Linked DNA regions of Homo sapiens: all the other regions are linked to region 3. Evidence: promoter capture Hi-C in human tissues and cell types (Jung and others, 2019). All regions are on one chromosome and are shown on one strand. The core of a region is centred on a gene start or on the middle of the fragment in contact, and the rest is flanking DNA. Distances in the headings are between cores, read along the strand shown. Region 1 has its middle 48 kb from the start of MINAR1. Region 2 has its middle 36 kb from the start of TMED3. Region 3 holds the start of ST20-MTHFS (ST20-MTHFS readthrough).

Region 1 (3,526 bases), core at 348-2,847, 540 kb before region 3:
GTAGTACCTGCTTGGAGCTGCTACTTGCTGATACCCACATGAGCCCAATGCCAGAATGCATAGCTAAAGTTCTGTTGCAAAGGGAGAGGTCATTCTTCCAGTGATGCCTGGCCTGCACTGGCAGCACCTATCCCACAGTGGCCCTCTGGCCTTCCCCAGGCTACCAGAAGCTGTGTCTGCCCTTCACAATTCTTCTGGGTGCTCAGCTCCTTTGGCTCAGAAGTTCACTACCTCTACCCTCTAAACTCCTGGCTGGAAACCTTAATCCCTTTCTCTATGTCCTCCACTTCACTCTGAACTTCTACCAGTATGGCTAATGGCTTTTTCAGCCACCTATCCTTCCTGCCACTCCTCATCCTGAATTTCAATCAGATCATCTACTTGTGAAGTAGTGTTTTCAGATATAGGTGCAGGGAAGCTTCTTTTATATTATCTTTCATGGGTATCTCATACTATTGTTCTTACCAACACAATATAGTCTTTATTCCCATTGACAAAGTCAATTACAAGGGCATAAACACGATTTATTTCTTTTCCAAGGGTCCCAGTGCTTCACCAACACCAACGCCACCACTAAGGGTTCCAGTGTGATCACCATCTGGGATCTACCTGTTCCAACTGCTTGTTTACCTCCTGTGCATGCTCCACGGGACATGGCTCTTTGCCTGTAGATCGCCAGGTACCCACAGCTTTACTGCCATGGTGCACTTCACTTCCTGCCTTGTCCACTCTCACCTGCACCAGTTATTGCTTACGTGGTAATCAGTATAGTCATTGATCTTCAGGGACCATCCAGCTACCCGATTTCCAATGTGGCTGCCTTTGCTATCTTGTTTTGGAAAATGTCTTAAGGCTGTTGAAGATTATATCTATTTGATCCTTTGTGCCCTTAGATGGAGAAAAGAAATGTATTGAGTAGAAGCTCTGAAAGTTTGGAAGGTCCCTCACACCATCCTCAGGTTCAGAGTTTCACTAGATGAAGTCACAGAACTCAGCAAGCCAATTTACCCATGGTTACAGTTTGTTAGAGCAGAAGAATACATTTGAAAATCAACAATAAGAAAAGGTACAAAAGGTAAAGTCTAGGAGAGACCAGGAATGGAGCTTCCCACTTGTCGCTCCCCAGTGAAGTCATACAGACTGCACTTATCTCTCCCCGCAACGATGTGTGACAATATGCCTAGGGTATTGCCAACTAGGGAAGTTCACTTGAGTCTCAGTGTCCAGAGATTTTATTGAGGAATCAGTCACATAGATATGGCTAGCCACCATACGACTGACTTTGATCTCTAGCCCCTCCAGAGATAAAGCTGATGTTGTGTTGTCCAAGGACCTCACCATAAATCTTATGGTTAGTACAGACTATCTGGCATGGCCCAAGGTCCTAGGTTTATAAAGACACTTTTGAAAGCCAGGACATTCCAAGGGCTTAAATGTTACCTTCCAGAAACTGGGGGTAAAGAGCCAAAACTTTCTTTGGGTTAATCCTTTACTGCATAAGCTCTAAGACCCCAATAATTCATGGCCCTATTTCTGGGGCATGATTCAGCCCAGAGAAGAGATCGGAGAAACCTACCTCCCATCATCAAAGAGCTCCTGGATGTTCCATCAAGCAAAACTGTGGGAGGAAATTCAGTGTTCCTATGGAGATGGTGGTGTGACCTGAGCTGGCTCAGAGGTTCTAAAAGCTTCTTCTCAAACATTGGCAAGGTCACAGGTACCCAATAAGGTACATCTTCCCTTTCCTTCAACAGTCCAAAACCTCCAGAACTCTCTCGAGGCAGTGATTAATACTAAACAAAGGACTTGAAGGATAGGAGGGATTCTGAACAGGGTAGAAATAAATAGTAGTGTGGGATATTCGTATAGTTTTCTTGGAAGAGGTAATATTTGAGTAGGATCTTGAAAAATGAGTAGACGTGTAAATGCCACAAGTAAAGGCAAAGATATATACATCATTGTCGGAATAGGAAAGAGTGTGGCACATCTGGGAATGATGAGGGGCCTTATGCAGCTGGGGGAGTCTATTGGTCAGACATGAGGCTGGAAATGGTGCAAGGGCTAGATAGGGAAGGGCTTCATATGCGATGCCAAGAGGCACAGACTATGCTGTGATTCCCTGGCAGTATAGCTGGTGGGACAAAGAGAAATCAAACTCAAAAAGTTCCCCTCTTGTCTACCATGTGTATACTCAAGTAGGTGATGAGATTGTAGGAAGAAGGTAGGATATAATAGCAGATAATTGGGTAGCCATATAGAAAAATCAAATAAAATTTGACCTTTACCTTATAAAACATATTTTTAAAAACCCAGTCTGGGTGTGGTGGCTCATGCTTGTAATCCCAGCACTTTGGGTGGCCGAGGTGGGAGAATCGCTCGAGCCCAGGAGTTTGAGACCAACCTGGGTAACATAGTGAGACCTCATCTGTATAAGAAATGAACAGCAGAGGGGCGAAGATGGCCAATTAGAAGCAGCTGCAGTCCGTGGCATTCACGGAGAGGAATGAAAGGCGTGAGTGAATACAGCACCTTCAACTGAAATATCCAGGTTCTCACATTGGGACTGATTAGGGAAACAACTTAACCATGGAGAATGAAGAAGAGCAAGGTTGGGTGATGGCCCACCTGGGAGTGACACAGAGCTAAGGGAAGTGGTGAGTGATTGTGTGACCCTGGAAAAACATGCTTCTCCCACGGATCTTTGCAACCTGTGGATCAAGAGATGCCCTTGTGAGCCCACACCACCAGGCCCTGGGGCTGACACACAGAACTGTGTGGAGTCTTGGCAGAGTAACTGCTCAGGCATGCACAGAGACCCAGCAGCTTTATATACTCTGGCCCTGGGATCCCCATCAGATGTGTCTAACTCAGGCAAGGTGAGAGGTCCGCACCTACCCCTAGGAAGGGGGGCAGAATCCAGGGAGCTGATTCTGTGGGTCCCACTTCCACAGCACCTCACAAATTCTTGGGGCTCCATCCCATCTCAAGCAGGCTCCACCCAGTTGCCGGTGGCTGGCTGGAATGTCAAGCCAGTGGATCTTACTTTGTGAGGTGCTGCACCTGGGAAGGTGGCTGCAGCTGCACCTGGGGAGTTCCCATCCCACCCTGCTGGAAGGAGCAGGACTCCTGCTTGTCTCTGGCTCCTGCCTGCTCCCTGGAGTGGAAGGCCCAGGTCTGCAGTCACTGGTTGGGTGCCTGCAGCTGCACCCAAGAGGGCAGATCCTGCCTGTTCCTGGCAACCTCGAAGAGCACAGGTAGGCTCAGATCCACAGCCACAGTTTGGGCAGGGGTCCATTCTGCTCCCTAGAGCGGGAGGCCTGGGTCTGCAGCCACACTTTGGGTAGCTACAGTGGCACCTGGGGAGCTGAACCCCCAACTTAGAAGGGGCAGAGCTCCCACTGGCTTCATGGAGTGTGCAGTGCCAGCCGCAGCCAGTGTGATAGCAGCAGCCTCTGCCATCATTAGGTACTATTTATTATCTTGATTTTACAAATGATAAAACAACTGTTGGATTTCAGCCCAGGTC
Region 2 (3,724 bases), core at 108-2,607, 580 kb before region 3:
TAATTTGTACGAAACATTGGAGGCAAAGACTTCACTGTAGTGAGCCCAGTGAGATGAGGCAGTGTGAAAGGGAGACAATGTTTTATAGGAGTTTAACTTTAAAGCTTTGCTGTGTTTGAGCAGTAGCCGGAAGGAGATGTGGAAGAGACTGTTTTTGTTTTATAATTTGAGAGACAGAGCAGCATATGGGAATTTAATGGAAATGCTCACAGAAAGAGAGAAAACAGGGGGACAATGAAAGACATATAAATATAGAGAGCTACCAATCAGGAAGAAGAGGACCACCAACTCAATAGAAAGACTGGGCCAAAGATCCAGACAGGGAAGAAAAATAGAAAGCTCTTTTTAAAAATTTATTTACTTTATTTTTTATTAACTTTTAAGTTCAGGGGTACATGTGCAGGTTTGTTACATAGGTACACTGGTGTCATGGGGGTTTGTTGTACAGATTATTTCATCACCCAGATATTAAGCCTAGTACCCATTAGTTATTTTTCCTGATCCTCTCCCTTCCCACCCTTCACCCTCTGATAGGCCATAGTGTGTTGTTCCCCTTTATGTGTCCATGTGTTCTCATCATTTAGCTCTCACTTATAAGTGAGAACATGCAGTATTTGGTTTTCTGTTTCTGCATTAGTTTGCTAAGGATAATGACCTCCAGCTCCATCCGTGTTCCTGCAAATGACATGATCTTGTTCTTTTTCTGGCTGCATAGTATTCCATGGTTTATATGTACCACATTTTCTTTATCCAGTCTATTATTGGTGGGCATTTAGGTTGTTGATTCCATGTCTTTGCTATTGTGAGTAGTGCTGCAATGAATATACACATACATGTGTCTTTATAACGAAACAATTTATATTCCTTTGGGTATATGCCCAGTAGTGGGATTGCTGGGTCAAATAATATTTCTGCTTATAGGTCTTTGAGGAATCATCACACTGTCTTCCACAATGGTTGAACTAATTTACATTCCCACCACCAGTGTATAAGCATTCCTTTTTCTCCACAACCTCACTAGCATCTGTTATTTTTTCCCTTTTACTAATAGCCATTCTGACTGGTGTAAGATGACATCTTCTCATGGTTTTGATTTGCATTTCTGTAATCATCAGTGATGTTGAGCTCTTTTTTATAAGATTGTTGGCCACGTGTATGCCTTCTTTTGAAAAGTATCTGTTTATGTCATTTTCCCGCTTCTTAATGGAGTTGTTTGTATTTTTTCTTGTAAATTTGTTTAAGTTCTTTATAGATGCTGGAGTTAGACCTTTGTCAGATGCATAGTTTGCAAAAATTTTCTCCCATTCTGTAGGTTGGCTCTTCACTCTGTTGATAGTTTCCTCTGCTGTGCAGAAGCTCTTTAGTTTAATTAGATCCCATTTGTCAGTTTTTGCTTTTGTTACAATTGCTTTTGGTGTCTTTGTCATGAAGTTTTGCCTGTTCCTATGTCCAGAATGGTATTGCCTAGGTTGTCTTATAGGGTTTTGATATGGTTAGACTTTGTGTCCCCACCCAAATCTCATTTTAAATTGTAGATCCCATAATTCCCATGTGTCGTGGGAGGGACCAGGTGGACATAATTGAATCATGGGGGCTATTCCCACCATCCTGTTCTCATGATAGTGAATAAGTCTCACAAGATCTGATGGTTTTATAAAGGGCAGTACCCCTGCACATGCTCTCTTACCTGCCACCATATATATGTGCCTTTGCTCCTCTTTCACCTTCCACCATGATTGTGAGGCCTCCTGAGCCATGGGAACTGTGAGTTCATTAAACCTCTTTTTCTTTATAAATTACCCAGTCTTGAGTACATCCTTATTAGCAGCATGAGAACAAACTAATCAGGTTTTTATAGTTTTGGGTTTTCCATTTAAGTCTTTATTCCATCTTGAATTGATTTTTGTATATGGTGTAAGGAAGGGGTCCAGTTTCAATCTCCTGCCTATGGCTAGCGAATTCTCCCAGCACCATTTATTGAATGGGGAATCCTTTCCTCATTGCTTGTTTTTATCAGGTTTGTAGAAGACCTGATAGTTGTATGTGTGTGGCCTTACTTGAAACATCATCAATAATGAGCTCTGAAATTGAGCCAGTAATAAATAGCCTACTAACCAAAAAAGCCCAGGACCAGAAGTATTCCACAGCTGAATTCTACCAGATGTACAAAGACGATCTGGTAGCATTTCTGCTAAAACTACTCCAAAAATTTAAGGAGGAGGGACTCCTTCCTAATTCATTCTGAGGCCAACATCATCCTGATACCAAAACACGGCAGAGACACAACAGATAAAGAAAACTTCAGGTCAATTTCCTAGATGAACATCAGTGCAAAAATCCTCAACAAAATACTGGCAAACTGAATCCAGCAGCACATCAAAAAGCTTACCCACCATGATCAAGTAGGCTTTACCCCTAGGATGCAAGGTTTGTTCAACATATGCAAATCAATAAACATGATTCATTACATAAACAGAACTAAAGACAAAAAACCCACATGATTATCTCAAGAGATGCAGAAAAGGCTTTCAATAAAATTCAACACTGCTTCATGTTAAAAACTCTTAGTAAACTAGGTATTGAAGGAAAATACCTCAAAATAATAAGAGCCATCTATGACAAACCCACAGCCAACATTATACTTAATGGGCAGAAGATGGAAGGATTCTTTGTGAAAACTGGCACAAGACGAGGCTGCCCTCTGTCACCACTCCTATTCAACATTGTATTGGAAGTCACGGCCAGGGCAATCAGGCAAGGGAAAGAAATAAAGTGCATCCAAATAAGAAGGGAGGAAGTCAAACTATCCTTGTTTGCAGATGACATGATACTATATCTAAACATCCCCATAGTCTCACCTCAAAAGCCCCTTATACTAATAAAGAACTTCAGCGTAGTCTCAGCATACAAAATCAATGTGCAAAAATTACTAACATTCTTATACGCCAACAACAGTCAAGCTGAGAGGCAAATCCAGGAATGCAATCTCATTCACAGTTGCCACAAAAAGAATAAATACCTAGGAATACAGCTAGCCAGGGAGGTAAAAGATCTCTACAAGGATAACTACAAAACACTGCTCAAAGAAATCAGAGATGACACAGAAAAAGGGAAAAAACTCTTATACCCAAAAAAGCATATCATTTTGAAAGTTAACAAAAATAGCTGATTTTACCCAGATCAAAATGTTTGAAAAAACACTAGATTGTCCAAAGTGTGGAGAATGATGCCCAGTCATAGATTGCTTGTGGGAAATTAAGATGATAAGAGCTCTATAATAAAAATGAGACCTAACAATTATTAAGCACTTACCCTGTTGCCAGGCAATATTTTCAATAAGTTACATGCATTAAATCATTAACCCTCACTCTAACCCCTGAAGAGGGCACAGTGCCCTCTGAAGAAACTTGCCGGTTAAGTCACTTGCCTAACACAGATGACAGGTCACTTGTCACACAGATAGTGGCCTGCAGCACCCTTCAAAGGGCAAAATGGTGACACTTATCAATGTGAAAACATATATACTTTTTAAGCCAGCAATTCTAGGAATTTTTCTTATTGCTACATGTTCATGCTTGTCAAATATATGTATATAAATATAGTCACTACCCTGTTGTTTGCAATAGTAAAAAACCGAAAGTGAATTTACACATAAGAATGCTGATGGAAATGCTCATATAGGGAGACAAATCAATAGAAACCTCATTAGCAAACAATGGTATAT
Region 3 (3,422 bases), core at 694-3,193:
AAATTAGCTGGGCATGGGGGTGGGCACCTGCAGTCCCAGCTACTTGGGAGGCTGGGGCAGAAGAATTGCTTGAACCTGGGAGGCGGAGGTTGCAGTGAGCTGAGATCATGCCACTGCACTCCAGCCAGGGCAACAGAGCGAGACTCCGTCTCAAAAAAAAAAAAAAATAGTAAATAAAAAATAAAGGTTTGTCACCATATACTCAAGAGTACTTCTGTTATTCAAATCTCCTAACTGGGAGTTACAAATATCTCTGACTCTGCTCTTGTAGCTGTCAGAGCATAAAATGCCCTTCCCACTCTTTCCTCACTTCCAGACTCCAAAGCCTCCTCCTCAAAGTTTGGCCCCTCTACTTTGGACTACTGTTTTCTTCCCAGTTACTGCGCACTGACAGTACTTTTGTTCTCTCTTTCGGCAATTCACCATACACTTTCTAGTTTATTTATCTGCATAAAACTTAGTTCTCAACAAGACTATAACTGCCTTATGAACAGGAATCAACAGTTGAGAATCTTCAGAGTCTCCTATAACATCATGTAAGAGCTCACTAAATGTTTGATTTAAATAACTAGGCTTAAGAGTAATAGGCTGGGCATGGTGGCTCATGCCTGTAATCCCAGCTCTTTGGAAGGCCGAGGCGGGAGGATCACGAGGTCAGATCGAGGCCATCCTGGCTAACACGGTGAAACCCGTCTCTTCTAAAAATACGAAAACAAAAAATTAGCAGGGAGTGGTGGCCAGTGCCTGTAGTCCCAACTACTCGGGAGGCTGAGGCAGGAGAACGGTGTGAACCCAGGAGGCGGAGCTTGCAGTAAGCCAAGATCTCAACAGTGCTAAATGCATACATGGATTATCTTACTAAATTTTCATAACTCTATAGAGGTAAGTGCTATCATTATTTTCTCCATCATAGAGGAAGAAAGTGAAGCTCAGAATAACTTGCTCAAGGTCATACAGGCCTGGGCAAACCCAGGGCCTGAATCCAGCAAAGCTCTTAACTACCTCAGAACACTGCACAGTTCGAGCCCTGCAATACTACAGTCTATGAATGATTTCGATTTCACTAAGTTAGAAATTTGAATTTCAACAGAGACATTTTAGCTAAAAGGTAAAATTTTAAAGAGGATGAATTAAGAGAATTTCCCACAGACATCTTTATAATAAAATGAGGAGAAAAGCCTCCCATTTCCTATTTATGAAAGTGATATTAAGGTGTGTGTCACAATTTCATCAAGAAGTGGCTTATGACAATACAGCTTTGGTTTAGGTATTAAAATAGGACTCTTTTCTGCCCATAGGAGGACATGGAAATGAAGGATAGATGTGATAAATGTCAATTCAGAGCTCTGCAAAATGCCAGACTCAATTCTTGTTTTAAAATATCAGAGCCAGGGCTCTTGTTTCACCCTTGATTCTTCACACAAAACACCACCATCCTCTGACCTCTTCACACAGAGCAAGCTTTACCCCACTACCTAAAGGGGAGTGCTGATCCACATGGTCTCCCCATCCACGCTAGAAATTGATCCCAAACACCAACCGCTGCATAGACGTCGGCGACTTTGGTCTGCACCCCCCGAACTTGGTGATACCTCATCAAGCCAAACCCCTCCCCAACATCCAAAATGCCCAGACCAGCATCCGAAAGCTGGTCTCCTATACAAAGCAGAATCCCTGCCTACAAAGCAGTTTCCCACCTCCGACTCCTCCCCACGGCGAACAGCCCTTCTGGATCCAACCAACCCACCAACCCCAATAGGGCCCAGCACCCAGAGGGTCCACAATCCAGAGAAGGAGCTACAAGCCCTGTACTTGCAAGCCTCGAACCCCCAACTCCAACTGACCTCCCCTCTGCCAGAGCAAGACCACGAGTACCCGCCGAGAGCGGACCTGGCTGGCTACACAAAGCCAGGCGCCCGACCAGAGGGATCCTCCGGGACGTCCTCCGCCACCGGGGCGTCCCCGCCCAGCCCCGCCCGGCGCCCGGCGCTCACCAGCTCTCCTCCCCCTCCTCCTAGCCTGACAGACGCTCCAGGTCGTCTAGCAAGCCGCCCTCCCCCGCCGCCAGCAAGAAGGTGGCGTCTCGCAGCTCCTCGTTATTCGTCCGCCTCGGGTCCATCCGGCCCCGCCGCCCGACTTTGCGCTGAGACCCAAGGGGAAGCCCCGAGGGGACCCCGCGCCGTAGGAGGGAGTGGAGGAGCCGGCGAACCGCGATGGAGCCGGGGCCCAGCACAGCGCGAGCGGCTCCTCGGCTGTTCGTGCTGCTTCCCCAGCTTCTTCACCGGCACCTGCAGCTTCCGCACCTCCTGGTCCGCGTTCACGTTAGAGTTAACGTCCTCCATCCCGGCCCCGCTGCCTCCGCCGCCCGCGGCCCTCTCGCTCTCGCAGCAACAAGGGAAGAGCCGGAGGAAAGAGGCGTCCACGCCGCTCACTCCAGCCGAGGCCCCCGCATATAGCAGGGCCAGGCCCCGTCGCCAGGGTTCCCCCAGCGCGGGTCCCGAAGCACCGCTGGCCACAGATGAACCGCCTCCTCAGCGCAGGTCCGGGATTCGGGGAGGCAGCGCCAATATCCGGTCTCTGCAGCCATCTTCCCTCCGTCCCTCCGCCCACCGAGGGTCGGCCCTGTAGGTGACCTCAGAGCGTCGGGGATGGGCGTGGCCCCGTCGGGCGCTAAGAAGACCTAGCGCAGAGAGGACCGCCGAGCTCCCGACGGGGCGGGGCCAGGTGTGTGAGGGGCGGGGATTGGACCCGGAGGGGCGTGTCTGGACTGCCGGCGGAAGTGGAACGCGGCCTGACCTGCGACGGAAAGCCACTGCAAGCCCGGAGGCGAACAGAAGGCATTCCGCGAGCCGGGCTGAGTTGGTGAACACGGTCCTCGTTCACCCCGCCTATTGGTCTGGGCGTGTGGGGTATTCTCCACCCACTTATACGGCGTGTGGGACCGACGGGCCCGTCCTGCCCGGCTCCGGTCCGGATCTCGAGTAGGCGCTCAATGGGATTCGGGGAGACGTAGTTTACTTTGTTCAGCAAATATTTAACCGATGCCTATTTTAATGGGAGATTGTTTCCGCTGGCGGGAGCCTCAGAGACCGCCTGTGTCCTTTAAGAAACCCGAATTTCAGACAGTTAAGAGAGGTCTAAGGTCAAAATAATAATCATAATTTCTTCTTACTGGCCAGATACTATGCTAAGCCCTTTTTAATTTTATTATTATTATATTTTGTCACCGAGGCTGGAGTGCAATGGCCCGATCTTGGCTCTGCAACCTCCGCCTCCCGGTTTAAAGCGATTCTCCTGCCTCAGCCTCCCGAGTAACTGGGATTACAGGCGGGCGCCACCACGCCTCGCTGATTTTTGTATTTTAGTAGAGACGGGGTTTCGCCATTTTGGCCAGGCTGGTCTCGACCCTGACCTCAGGGTGA

The links. The method cuts DNA at HindIII sites, captures the fragments that hold promoters and counts their contacts. A contact is called where the count stands out against the background at its distance.
Region 1: a contact is called between a fragment that was not itself captured here and the fragment with the promoter of ST20-MTHFS in region 3, in 3 of the 25 tissues and cell types used here (lymphoblastoid cells, mesenchymal stem cells and mesendoderm cells).
Region 2: a contact is called between a fragment that was not itself captured here and the fragment with the promoter of ST20-MTHFS in region 3, in 2 of the 25 tissues and cell types used here (bladder and mesenchymal stem cells).

What each region holds. Positions count from the first base shown.
Region 1 is chr15:79,382,428-79,385,953 of GRCh38, forward strand. It overlaps a transcript of TMED3 not described here. Among named protein-coding and RNA genes, the nearest start is that of MINAR1, 48 kb to the right of the region's middle. The HindIII fragment of the contact is 3,235 bases long and covers 1-3,215 here.
Region 2 is chr15:79,344,787-79,348,510 of GRCh38, forward strand. It overlaps a transcript of TMED3 not described here. Among named protein-coding and RNA genes, the nearest start is that of TMED3, 36 kb to the left of the region's middle. The HindIII fragment of the contact is 4,778 bases long and covers 1-3,724 here.
Region 3 is chr15:79,921,149-79,924,570 of GRCh38, forward strand. It overlaps ST20-MTHFS (ST20-MTHFS readthrough), which reads right to left and starts at 1,944. Exons shown (of 4, transcript NM_001199760.2): 1 at 1,891-1,944. ST20 (suppressor of tumorigenicity 20) reads right to left here and starts at 2,604. Exons shown (of 3, transcript NR_037653.2): 1 at 2,304-2,604. ST20-AS1 (ST20 antisense RNA 1) reads left to right here and starts at 1,623. Exons shown (of 1, transcript NR_028330.1): 1 at 1,623-3,422. RefSeq lists silencers at 1,762-1,871, 1,892-1,961, 1,972-2,021, 2,642-2,791 and enhancers at 2,322-2,501, 2,932-2,981, 3,183-3,422. The HindIII fragment of the contact is 9,290 bases long and covers 1-3,422 here.